Linked DNA regions of Homo sapiens: all the other regions are linked to region 1. The links are contacts of gene promoters, found by promoter capture Hi-C in human tissues and cell types (Jung and others, 2019). All regions are on one chromosome and are shown on one strand. Each heading gives the region's core, a stretch centred on a gene start or on the middle of the fragment in contact. The rest is flanking DNA. Distances are from core to core; before and after follow the strand shown.

The links. Contacts are between HindIII fragments. The study calls those that stand out against the background at their distance.
Region 2: a contact is called between a fragment that was not itself captured here and the fragment with the promoter of SNX10 in region 1, in 2 of the 25 tissues and cell types used here (H1 embryonic stem cells and mesendoderm cells).
Region 3: a fragment that was not itself captured here is called in contact with the fragment with the promoter of SNX10 in region 1 in 1 of the 25 tissues and cell types used here (mesendoderm cells).

What each region holds. Positions count from the first base shown.
Region 1 is chr7:26,290,384-26,294,910 of GRCh38, forward strand. SNX10 (sorting nexin 10) reads left to right here and starts at 1,479. Exons shown (of 7, transcript NM_013322.3): 1 at 1,479-1,703. RefSeq lists silencers at 1,503-1,742, 1,893-1,972 and an enhancer at 3,464-3,513. The HindIII fragment of the contact is 12,028 bases long and covers 1-4,527 here.
Region 2 is chr7:25,910,311-25,914,837 of GRCh38, forward strand. No RefSeq gene overlaps it. Among named protein-coding and RNA genes, the nearest start is that of MIR148A, 37 kb to the right of the region's middle. The HindIII fragment of the contact is 6,078 bases long and covers 1-4,527 here.
Region 3 is chr7:25,929,206-25,933,732 of GRCh38, forward strand. No RefSeq gene overlaps it. Among named protein-coding and RNA genes, the nearest start is that of MIR148A, 19 kb to the right of the region's middle. The HindIII fragment of the contact is 6,244 bases long and covers 1-4,527 here.

The DNA.
Region 1 (4,527 bases), core at 229-2,728:
CACTACGCCCGGCTAATTTTTTGTATTTTTAGTAGAGACGGGGTTTCACCGTTTTAGCCGGGATGGTCTCGATCTCCTGACCTCGTGATCCGCCCGCCTCGGCCTCCCAAAGTGCTGGGATTACAGGCGTGAGCCACCGCGCCCGGCCCAAGTTACCAGTCTTAATAGGGTCAAAATTCTAACAGATATTCAAATGACTTTCAGTAGACTCTCCAAGGGTTTGTTGCTGCTTTGTCTACAGCTGTAAAGTCATGCTCTTGACAATAAGTTCAGAAAGATTTTAATTTTACAGAATCTCTTAGGATCTTAGATACATGCTGCATTTTGTTTTCTACTCAATGTTTTTCTTTGCGGAGCATAGGGACAAGAATATAAAAAATACACTTTAATTTGATTTTCTTTCTTTTTTTTTTGAGACAGAATCTTGCTCTGTCGCCCAGGCTGGAGTGCAATGGCATGATCTCGGCTCACTGCAACCTCTGCCTCCCGGGTTCAAGCTATTCTCCTGCCTCAGCCTCCCGAGTAGCTGGGATTACAGGCGCGCGCCACCACGCCCAGCTAAGTTTTTGTATTTTTAGTAGAGACGGCATTTCACCATGTCAGCCAGGATGGTCTCCATCTCCTGACCTTGTAATCCACCCGCCTCGGCCTCCCAGAGTGCTGGGATTACAAGCGTGAGCCACCACACCAGCTTAATTTGATTTTCAAAAGTGATCATGGTTGCATTCACTTGTGTGTCATGACTTGGGTGCAATTTTAGGAAATTAAATACCAGTGATTGAGGGTTCAGCAATACAACTTCAAGATCCAAGATGTTAAGACACAACATTGTATATTTATACGTTTTGTTAGGGAGTTAATGTAGGTGTGGTGAACAGATGCGTTTTCAGGTGGGCCTGGAATGGTCCCTGGAGGATGATCAGCGACAAGCTGTATCTAATGGGAAAATTCATGCTTGAAAAATGAAATATTAGGCTATGCTTATTATTCTGTGTCATTCAGTCACTTATTAGCAGTTTAAGTGATGATTGTGGTTTCCCATGCAAACAGGTGTGGGGACCCAGCCTCAGGTGCCATTTGGGAAATGCTTTCCTCAGTCAGGTCCCTTGGCAGATCTCATTAGCTTTCCCCCCAAATGTTTTATTGAGACATTTCAAACATAGACAAAAACTGAAATAATTTTATATAAACACCATAGCCCACCACCTAGATGCTATGAACATTCTGCCATTCTTGTTTATCACGTTATTTATCCGTCCTCCTCCCCATCGGCAATCCTCCCCATAACTGTGGGGTCAGGGTTAGGAAGCTTAAGGTGACTCAGGTGGCGAATTCCGAAGGGTGCCGCTGGAGCACCTCCAGCCTCAACGTCCGGACTAATGGGGGCATTTCCTCCCTAACTCAATTTCAGGAAGCAGGAGGCTAGCTCTGCAGGGTGGGGGCGCACCTGGGCTGGGCTGCGCGGAGGCGGCGGAAGCACTAGGCGCGGCGCCCACAGGCGGACGGCTGGCGCTGAGCGCGGGCGCGGGGCCGCTACGTGCGCGGGGAGCGCGGGGAGCGCGGGGAGCGCGGGGCTGCGCTCGTGTGCGCTCCTGGGCGCTCGCCGCCGCCGCTGCCGCCGCGCGCCTTTGAGTCAGCAAACTCCGCGGCCCGCAAGCCCGGCTCGGCCCGGCCCTGCTCTGTTCTGCCCGGAGGAGCCGCCCGTAAGTGACAAGAGACCCGCTGAGGGGGCCTCCCCTGCACCGCCCAGGTGGGGACGGCGGCCCTTCTTTCCAGAGGCGCGGGCCCTTCCCGCTGTTCCCAGGTGCCCGCACCCTTGCGGGCTGGAAAGAGGTTTGGGTCCCTTGGGCTTGGAGCAGAGGAGCCGCCTCCTTTTCAGCCGAGGTGTGCCGGGCAGGGAGAAATGATCAGCGCGGTAGAGCGGGGAGATGGAGCGCGTCGATCCAGGGATTCTTGGCTAAAAAGACACCCCGGGGAGAGGGTGGGGCAGAGGTGGATTCTAGATTACGGAAGAAGTGCTGTGGCACCTTACACCAGGCCGGGTAGAAGGGGGTGGGGAGGTGGTTTTTAAAATTTATTTATTTATTTTTTTATTCATTCATTAACGGGTAGCCTTGAGTTGAGGAATTGGGAGGGGTAGGCAGGTTTATTCGTGGGATTGTGGGATTGAGGGAGAAGGCCCAGGGGAAAATCCATATAATTGACTGATTATCAGATTTGGTGACCAGGAAAGCAACAGCCTGTTTTTCAGTTCCGATGCATCATACTTTTCTCAAATTACACGGATTATTGAGGGGGATCGTCACGGAATGGGGAGCAACATGTCCTGCTGAAAGGAAGGGCTTCTATCTCTACAAGACACGTTAAAAATGATGGTATCAGAAAATTAGAACGGGGAGGAGGCTTGCACATGATCTCCATCAAACCTTTCATTTTACAGACAGGGAGGCTAAGGCCGAGGGACGCTGAGTGTTGGGACCAGGATCATTCAGCCAGATGGGAGCAGAACCAGGCCTACAACCTGGCAGGCTTCTGACTTCCACCCCGGAGTTATGTCCACCTCTGGGGCCTGGGAACTGGGTTTGGATTGCATAAGCTCCCCCTCCTCTCCCAGGAGGGGGCTGGGCTGGAGGCTGAGGCCTTCGCCAGGAAGAAGCAGGGACTGCTTGGATAGTTGACCAGCTTCTGCAGGGGCTCCTCAGTGAGAGAATGGAGGTGAGGTCAGGGACTCCTGCCTTGCCTCTGCCATCACTTCCAGTGATGCCTATTCCTAAGGTAGGTACATAGCTGGACCTTCATTATTCTTAATATTATTTACTTTTTTCTTTTTCTTTTGAGACAAGGTATTATTCTGTCACCCAGGCTGGATTGCAGTGGTGCGATCTTGGCTCACTGCAAACTCCACCTCCCAGGCTTCAGTGATCCTCCCACCTCAGCCTCCCTAGTAGCTGAGACCACAGGTGCGGGCCACCACACCCCTGGCTAACTTCGGTATTTTTTTTGTAGAGACAGGGTTTTGCCATGTTGCCCCAGGCAGGTCTGGAAGTCCTGAGCTCAAGCAATCCACCTGCCTCGGCCTCCCAAAGTGCTAGGATTACAGGGGTGAGCCACTGCGCTCGGCCTTTTATTACTATTTTTTAAAGGAAGGGTAGACTTGAGATTGACTGATAGGGCAGTTTTTAATAAAAATACAAAAATAAAATACATTTAGAAGAAACTGTGTGAAGATGTGAAATATCAGTGATTAGCATGGACTCAACTGGTCGTCCTGTTTCTTCTACCAGTCCATTTCATTCTCACTTTTGATTACCATTTAACTGGGGAGGACATCAGTGTTGACAGTGGGACTTGCTCAGGCTGACACTGTGCCCCACCAGGGAGTCTCCCCTCCAGGCTGGTACACACTTCCTCTTATTTTACTAATGGGAAGGACCCCTGAGTTAGGTAACCTAAAGTAATAGAAATAAGCACGTTCATTAAAAAAAATAAAAGTATGTTAATCAAAGAGTAACGTTGGTGTTCTACAGCAATTCTGCTGGGCTTTGGAGCAGTGGATATCTTTTCTCAGCCCTAGGATCACTACTTTCATTTTAAGGCTTCATTTTGCTCGTTAAGTTACTGGGGAAAATAACTTCTTTTTTCCGTTTTTAGTGACAGGGCTGTGGTTTCACAACCACTTGGTGAAAGGCAGACAACTGGTTGAGAACAGGGGCCAGTCTATGCAGATTTTCATTTCCTAGCATGGCGGAGAAGGGCTTTTGGCCAAGCTCATGGTTGACTCTGTGGGGAATCCCCCAAATTTAGCATTGTTATCTCCAAACATCTTTTTCTTAGTAATCTGGTAGGTATGAATTAGCTCTTCTGTTCTCTAAGCCCTGTTCAAAGAGGAAGGTATATAGTGTAGTGGTTAGAACTTGTGATTCCAGACCCATCTGAGTTGAAATCTTGGTATAATAATTTTCTAAGTATAGTTTTGTTGGCGGGGCACTTAACACTCTCTGAGTTGCCTGTTATTCAGAAATAAAAAAGGGTGATGGTAATCTTTGCTTCCCAGAACTGTTAATACAACAGCTGACATTTATCGAGTGCTTACTATATTCCAGGCATCGTGACATTATCGAGCACTTAATTATGGGCCAGGCATTGTGAAAGAGTTTTTATGTGGCAGTCTCATTAAGCATCACAACAGACTTATGAAGCAGATTCTGTTACTGTCTTCAGTTTACCTCTGGGGAAACTAAGCCATCAGAGTATTTATGATTTCTCTAAACTCAGCTTACAGTTTTAACTACCCAACAAATGTGTGTCAGATTTCTGTTATAAGCTAATAGTTATCTAGGGCTTACTGTGTGGTAGGCCCTGTTACAAGTGTCCTAAGTACGTTAACAACCCTTGAGATAGGTATTGTTTTTCTCCCCTTCTTCTTTCTTTTTACAGATGTGGAAACTGAGGCACAAAGCCCAAGGTCAAACAACTAGTAATGCGAGAGCCAAAATTTGAACTAGGAGCCTGGGTCTGGAATCAGTA
Region 2 (4,527 bases), core at 1,474-3,973, 380 kb before region 1:
GGCCGAGGTGGATGGATCACCTGAGGTCAGGAGATCCAGACCAGTCTGGCCCACATGGCGAAACCCCGTTTCTACTAGACGTACAAAAATTAGGCAGGCGTGGTGGCACATGCCTGTAATCCCAGCTACTCAGGCAGCTGAGGCAGGAGAATCGCTTGAACCTGGGAGGTGGAGGTTGCACTGAGCCAAGATCACACCACTGCACTGCAGCCTGGGTGACAAGAGCAAGACTCCATCTCAAAAACAAAAACAAAAACAAAAACAAAAAAACAACCAGAATCAATCATATGAATAACACTATTGACAGGCTTAGTCTACACACACACACGTATAAATATTTGTGGGTATACATATATTTCATATATATATGTATATACACACGCATATAATGTGTGCATACATATAAAAATGATGGTCTATAGATTTTATACATACACACACATATGTAGCTTGTTGTATAATATATAATATCATATGTATGTTTTACAGAGATAGAATCAGGTACCAAAAAATTCCACTCATGAGGAATTTACATTTATAAAATATGAACCTTTCCCAAATCAGAAGGAAATTTTAACCAGTTCCAAAGAACTGATTATCATACAGACTATGTTATCCATTCACAGTAATATAAAAATTATAATCCAACAGTACAAATGAGAGCAAAAAAATTTTTAATTTTTTGGAAATGAAAAAATACACATATAAATAATTCATGGATTAAGGAACTCATACTATTTTATTAATTGTTTTTGTCACTTAATCTATCGTAAACATTTCTCTTATATCTTTAAAAACTGTTCTACAATGTAACTTTTAGAGTAGCATGATATTCCAACATATGGATGTCATATAATTTATTTAACCAGTTCCTTATTTGGGCACATTTATATTATTCTCAACTTTTTGCTATTATCATAATGCTATAATAAAGATGAGGCCAGGTGCAGTGTCTCACACCTGTAATCCCTGCACCTTAGGAGGCCAAGGAAGGTGGATCACTTGAGGTCAGGAGTTCGAGACCAGCCTGGCCAACATAGTGAAACCGCATCTCTACTAAAAATACAAAAATTATCCAGGCATGATGGCAGGTGCCTGTAATCCCAGCTACTCAACAGGCTGAGGTGGGAGCATGGCTTGAACCCGGGAGGCAGAGGTTACAGTGAGCCGAGATCATGCAACTGCACTCCAGCCTGGGTGACAGAGACAGACTCTGTCTCACAAAAAAAGAAAGAAGTAATATTTTTACTTCATCGTACACAAATGTATTTTACACCATTAAGTTCTTTCTGTTTCTTAATTAGAATGTTCCCAATTGGAAAACAGTTGTACAATACTTCATTCTAAAGGAAGAAGAGCCATAAAAAGAGAAAAAAAAAATAAGAAGAAACCCTGCATTTTAGATCTTCCTAGAAATAGCAAGTTGCTCCAGGAAAAGACCAAACCAGGTGATAAAGGTTTGTGTCACCATTTCAAAAAGAATAAAGAAAAGGGCAGTACAGACACTGCATTATCAGACGCCACCATTATAATTTGTGGATCTCACACATCAATATGTAAATAACAGAGGCCAAGCTATTTCCTCCGCAGGTTGCCTGTAAATTGAAGTAAAAACTGTATTACTAAAGCCAGGCAAGCTAGAACAACACAGATTATAAGTCAAACAATGATATGAGTTCATTTAACACTGAGAAAACAAGCGTTTCTAGATAACTACATATCATGCAAGACAAACAATTCTAGAAACGGGAAATAAATGGGTGAGGCAAAATGAAAAGGAAGAAAATTGGATGAAATTCATCAGGACTAAAAATATTGGCAGTTTCAGGGTAGAGGTATTAGCTGAGCAATAAGGTGAGAGAAATTGCCACAAGTCTACATTGCCTGCACTCGGAGGGAGGCCACAGGGAGTGCCTGTTAAGAGCTCTGACTGGCTTCAAACTGCCTTGGCTGGATTTTGGTGGTAGCAGTGGGTGGCCTTGGCCAAATTTTCCAAGCCCTGATTTTCTTATCACTAAGGTAGACAGCTTCTACCTCATAAGGATGCTATGAGGATGAAATGCAAAAAAAACAAAGTAAATAAAGGGCCTAGCCCAGTGTCTAGTACATTTGTATGTGCTCATTAATCGTTAGCAATAGTAAGTGAACTTCAAAAGATTAAGAAAAGCCAGATGGCCAGTTGAGAAACAGGAACAGGAATTAGATATTGTTACTAATCGTCTGTGATAAACTCTGTAGTTCATGTTAACACACACACACAAAAAAACACAAAAATTTGCTTCTATGAACCATTTTTAAAAGGCTCTAGGCCAGGCGTGGTGGCTCATGCTTATAATCCCAGCACTTTGGGAGGCCGAGGCGGGGAGATGGCTTGAGCCTAGGAGTTCAAGACCAGCCTGGGCAACATGGTGAAAACCCATCTCTACAAAAAATACAAAAATTAGCCGGGCATGGTGGTGTGCACTGTGGTCCCAGCTACTTGGGAGGCTGAGGTGAGAGAATCACCTGAGCCCAGGAGGTCTAGGCTACAGCGACCTGTGATGATGCCACTGCACGCCAGCCTGGGTGACAGAGTGAGACCTTGTCTCAAAATAATAATAATAATAATAATAAATAAGATAAAGTGCTCTAAATTTTAAATGTAAAGTGTTATAAAATCGGTGTGCAAGTTTCCAGTATAGAGTCTAGTTACTGAAGCAGATATTTAATTTATCATGACAAGACATATTGCCAAACTGAGACTGTTGGCCATGGCTGTGTGTCCACTGGCAACTTTAAGGGATGTGAGATCAGGCTGCCTGGGCATCCAGTTATGCTGTCTCTGATTGGAGGTGAACTGCATTCTTTCGAGTGGTGAGCATATAGACCTACTCTCCATGATTTGGCAGAAAATAATAAAATTTGATTTATATTTGTCAAATGTATTCCCTTGATAATGGCTGGACACCAAAATATCGTTTTCTGAGTTTTCTTTTCAAGAATTTGGCTTTGGAATATGGAAATTCCCATGATTGAGAGTCCACTCAGCAAGAACTAATGAGCCCTGAATAATGATCACCCTCCGAGAGTTCCCCTCCACCATGTTCATAAAACCCCTCCAGTTGGCGATGGCTTCCACTGCCTTTTAGTCAGAATTCAGCCTGTCTTTATGGACCTTTTTTGACTTCATAATTTCTCCAGGTTGTATTTTTAAAAGTCTTATTCACCTACAAAATGAACCAACAGATAAGCATCTTTTCCTTTTCAAAAGCAAGTCTGGTCTCTTTGTTCACAAATTCCAAATATACTAGTCCTAGAAATTATGCATGGGCAAGATTTGTACTTCCAGAGAATTTTACTTTCAAACAAGGTGAACTGTCAAACTGTGAATGCAGCTTGTGGAGTGAATGTCTCCCCGAGAAGGAGGCTCCTTTCCTTGAGGGGAAGGGAAGTGGCTGGTCTGGGGCTTTCTCATTGGCCCCTGGATGCGGTTTTGCACCTCTGGTTAGAGGCTGGCTGCTTTGTCTTGTCAGAGAGACGTATCATCTGTTTTAATGCTGACCTGTAATGTTTTATTCACATTGTAAATCTTTTATCGCCTGTGACTCCTGTGAGATTTCCCCTTTTGTTATTATTTTTTTTCTTATTGGTATTGATTCTCAATTTTGCCAAAGGGTTAGGAAACCTACTGCCCTGTTGGCATGATTGCAAAGAATCTGACTGCTGTTTTCCTCCCCACAAAAGAAGTATCTGTAGCCATTTAATTACGTAGTTTATTTTTAAAGCATGAATGAAAGAACCAGGGATCATCTTTCACTTAAATTCAGCTCAGCATGTTCTCAGAACATTAAACATTCTCAATTCTTTCAGTTATTGAAACGGGTGTCCTTGTCTGAAAGCAAATGAGTGCATTTGGTTTTACCCAGTCTAATGTCACAGATTTTATTGTATGCTGTTTTCTTTTGTCAGCTAGAAATAGAGTCCATAACCTCAAACACTGTCAAAAAGAAATAAATATACTCCGTGGGAAAAATAATAACTCTTAGACATTTCAGCTGCAGAATAAATCCCTTCCGTCGGACACAGCCTGCATATAATGGGAACCCCAAACTGCCTTGAATGCCCTAACAGAAGCTCTCCTGCATTTATAGAGAATACCAAGGTGTTCCCTGGCAATTGAATGTTAGTACAATAGAAAAGTGTTATTCATAGGTAACAACAAAAAAGGGTCGGCAGGGATATGTCTAACAATTCATGTTGTCACAGGCCAAAATAAGCGTATGTATCCAGAGAGAGCTGACCATTTAGATTAGAGAGAGATGTTTCTTCAAAGGAGAAGACCTGTTCTGGGTCATTCTGAGGTCCAGAGCTCATGGTGCTCTCTGCTCCACAAACACTTTCCATTCGCCCTCCTCCCCGCCATCTGTGGACTTCCACCGCCATCAGGAGCTTCCACCTTTCTAGAAGTCTGAAGCTTTAACACTCCAGTTTTCTGCATGGTACTGCAGCCAATCTCAAAGGATTCTTCAGTGGAGGGAACTGGAGGGA
Region 3 (4,527 bases), core at 916-3,415, 360 kb before region 1:
AGGCCAAAAGCCACCATTGTATATCAAATATTTCAAAGTCAAATTATGACCCTTGTGGATGACAGAACCGGCCTTAATTTTTACAGTATACTTTGATGGTGACCCTATCCTAAAATGTACCGTTGTGAAGACATCAACCCACGAAAGTTTGCACTGTCTGTTGTTAAGATTCAGATTCTATGCAGATTCTGCAACCCATACCCCACTCATTAAAGCAACTTTGGCACTTTTTTAATCCATTCAGTGACCGTGACACTAGAGATTTTTAGCATGAGGCAGTTTGAAGTAAATTAAATGGTGAATTGAGATGCTGTGGCAGCTTCTGACGGCAAGTGAACCATGGAATGAAAGGTGGCCCAGGAGACCCTAAGGAAGGGTCCCTGCTTGTGATAACACCATCAGGTGGGGCCCCCTTCCAAGCCTGCTGCAGAACTCTGCAAAATGGTCTTTGCCGGGGTGGTTGGGCGTGGGGGAGGGATCCAGATTGGGATCCTAGCTCCACATCCTGGCTTTGCCATCTGCCAGCTTTGTAATGCTTGAAGAGTTACTCGGCTGCTTTATGCCTCCATTTCCTTGTAAATTGGAGAATTACACCAGAGTTACTTGATTGTAAAAATTAAATTAGATAATTTATGTGAAGTGGCTAGCACAAAGCCTGATCTCGATTAAGTGCTCCATAAACGTTAAAGATTAATTCCATTGTGATTAAGAAAAGAGTCAGTATTATTATGGACCCAGACTCGCTGGGATTGAATCTTGGCTCCATCATTTCCCAGCTGTGTGTCCTTGAACAAATTATTTAGTTTCTCTGTGCCCCAGTTACCTCATCTGTAAAACAAAGCTAATATTAGGTTATTCTGAGGAACCACTGAGACGAGGTATATAAAGTACTTAAAACAGTACCTGGTGCATTTAAAAAGGGAGCCTCCTGATTGGTGCACTTTCCAATGTGCCTTTGAATAAGATATACAGGATCTGGGTATATTGGCAGATACACTGGCAGCAGTAACTAGGGTTAGAGTTAATACTAATAGTACTAGTAAGCAGCAGCATTACTTTACCAATTAGTAACAGCTTCCATATTTTGCATGCATATTCTATGCCACACACAAGCATATGTGGAAGTTTCTCCTTACCTGTCTCCCTCCCCGACTCCCACAAAGCTCACCTGATTTTCCCCATGAGGTTGACACTGGACCCAGCCCAGGGCTGGCCATGTCCTTTGATTTAATAGTATATATCTACCCTTTCACACAATGCTTAGCATCAGTCTGGTCATAATCCCAAAAAACACAGTCCATAATACTGAAATCTAAAAAAGTCAAAATCCCTAACATCTAATATCCCAAAAATCACAATCTTGAAAAATTTAAATCCCAAATATTGAAATCCCAAAAGCAGAATTCTGGGGAAGGGATTAGTGCATCTTTAGTGACATGCAGGATAGTTGCATCATGTTAGTTGCATCATGTTGGGTGGAACTATTATCTTGGTATTGTCTATATGTGCATTTGGCAGAAAATTCAGATGAGTGGATGGGCCATTCAATAAGGCGTTAAGGAAAACTTCAGTTTAAAAATGTGTCATTTGCCTGCAATGGCATTACTTCCAGTCGATGAAATTCTGAGCTTTGAATAAATTAAAGCTTCATTTGTCTGAAGAAGCCAGCAATTTTTAACTGGTTTGAAAATAATTACGTGCAAAGCAGGGTAAGAAGACATGCAACAGTGTTGCCTTTGATCACCAGTATTGTTTCTGCCAAATGTGTGGTTTATATACGAGTGCGTGCAGAATGGATTTCCATGTACCCAAAACAACACAGAAGCATTGTACAGAAAATGAGAAAATGTAATAGGGAATGCTCATGTCAGTGTATATCAAATCATAGAATTTGAAGAGCAGTGTTGCATAGAAAATGAAGATGAAAATATTCTTTGAGGAGAGCCATGACCTTCAAGAAAAGAAGCAGCTATTCATTTATGACTCAAGACTTCAAAAATATAGTGAATGATCATGAAAGTTGGCCAGCTTTTATGGACTACCTCTTTGCAATTGCCCATAACCTAGCCCTGTAATATACCTTTTCATGTGTCAATTTTTTTTGACTTTTCATGATTTTTTTTCATTTTTTTCCACAATTTTAACTTGTCAGCATAATTTTTTTTTAATTTGATAAGCTATGTATTTCATCTTCACATCATTTCCAACACTGGACTTGTATAAATTGGTGAAAACTTTTAGAGAGTTCTAGTTCATTTTATGCATTTTTTGCAAATTTGACACCATGAAAGGGCATTATCACAACGTTGACTTTATGTGGAAGCATTGTGTGTGTACATAAAAATGTAAAAACTTCCTCAATAAATGACAAGATGTCTTTTTTGTACATCTGCACTTGTGAAAGATAAAATTTCTTGAGATCTTGGCTCTTTGGGTGACTATGTGGGTGTTGGTGACCCATCACGGTTTTTGCTCAATCTTGTCAAAACTTAGGTTGTCTGTCACCGTATTTTAGATGACCACAGTTATAAAAATGAGTGCATGCAATTACCAACCATAGTGTTATGTGTCAATACATTTTGCTTTTTGACCTATTTTTTTATGAATATGGTTTGTCTGCCCATAACTGTTATACCTGCCATTGGTATAGCTGAGTGTCTACTCTTGTAAAAATATGTATGTTATTATTGCCTGTTTTATTGTGGAAAGTGGCCTATGAAGTGTTCTGTCATGTTTTTACGCTTCTCAAATAAATCTCCTTTTAAAATGTAAATAAATGTCTTTTAAATGATTTAAAATATTTTTTCCAGAACTATTTTTGGGATTTTGATTTTTCAAGATTCCAACATTCAGGATGATGGCATTCGGGATTGTGTCTTTCAGAATTTTGCCCAAACCCAGCTGGCATATAGTAGTGTTCAACAAATATGACATGAAGTACAACAGGGCTGCCATGTTGCACAACTTAGGATGCGGTATATGTGGTGCTCTAGCCTGTTCCTAGAGCAAGGTTCTACCAAACTTTAGCAGTGTTCCTACAAACTCCCTATGATGAAGCTGCCACAGTTTATCTATGCTAGTGCCTGAGTGTGAATTATTTCAGGATTACAGCTGCAGAGTGGTTCATAAACCTATAACTGTATCTTAATTATGGTAGCATGACTTCCTGGCCTCTAGTGTTGACAATCCAAAATAACTGCAAATTTTCATTACCACACTAATATTTACATATTGATCATTTAAAAAGCAGTGATTAGTCAATATTTTATAAGTGATCTTCACACTTTTTTTTCTATCCCTCCAGAAAAAGCGTCAGTATGACTCTGCTGAATGTCAATTACAGCCAGGCAATATTGTCATATATTTATTGTGTTACTCCATCTATTGCCTTTCTTTCTAACATAACGTGTAGTTTGGATTTCAACTGTTTGTTTACATAGCCACTCCCTTTCCCCTGTAAGAACTTTGAAAAACTATGTGCCCCCAGCACATACTTAAGTAGATACTTAATATTTTTCATAAGTCTAAATAGTTGCAAAGGATGTTATTTCTGGTCATTGAAAACATTGAACAGAAGCTGGGCTGAAGAGAAGGGAGCTGGGAATCCTGCAGGGGGCTGCTGTGCACTTGACTCATCCCTGGCCCCCAGTGACTCCAGGGGAATGAGTGAGTTGAACAGGAAAGGACCAACTCACTCCCACCATGGGCCTCTAGAATCCCAACAGGAGGAGAACCCTCAACCACTACAGACAATTGAGTTGGCAGGAAGAGCTTCTTAGAGAAGTGGTAGGGGAAGCACACCAGTCGATGTAGAGCCCAGAGGGTTTGGTGAGGGAGTGTCTGTAGTGGAGCATGGCCAAAAAAATTAAAACCCATCCAAAGGACAGCAACTTCAAAGACTGAAGGAACACCAGGCCACAAAGATGAGGAAAGAACCAGTGCAAGAACTCTGACATCTCAAAAATCCAGAATGCCTCTTTCCTCCAAATGACCACACTACCACTCAAGCAAGGGTTCTGATCCAGGCCAAAATGGCTGAAGTGACAAAAATAGAATTCAGAATAAAGATAGGAACACAGATCATTGAGATTCAGGAGTACATTGAAACCCAATCCAAGGAAGTAAAGAATCACAATAAAATGATACAGCAGCTGACACACAAAATAGCCAGTATGCAAAAGAATATAACTGACCTGATAGAGCTGAAAAACACACTATAAGAACTTCATAATGGAATCGCAAGTATTAATAGCAGAATAGACCAGACTGAGGAAAGAATCTCAGAGCTTGAAGACTGGCTTTCTGAAATAAGAGAGTCAGACAAGAATAGAGAAAAAAAGAATGAAAAGGAATGAAGAAAATCTCTGAGAAATATGGGATTATGTAAAGAAACCAAATCTACAACCCATTGGTGTCCCTGAAAGAGATGGGGAGAGTATAACCAAGTTGGAAAACATAATTCAGGATATCATCCATGAGAAATTCCCACCCTAGCTACAGAGGTCAACATTCAGGAAATGCAGAGAA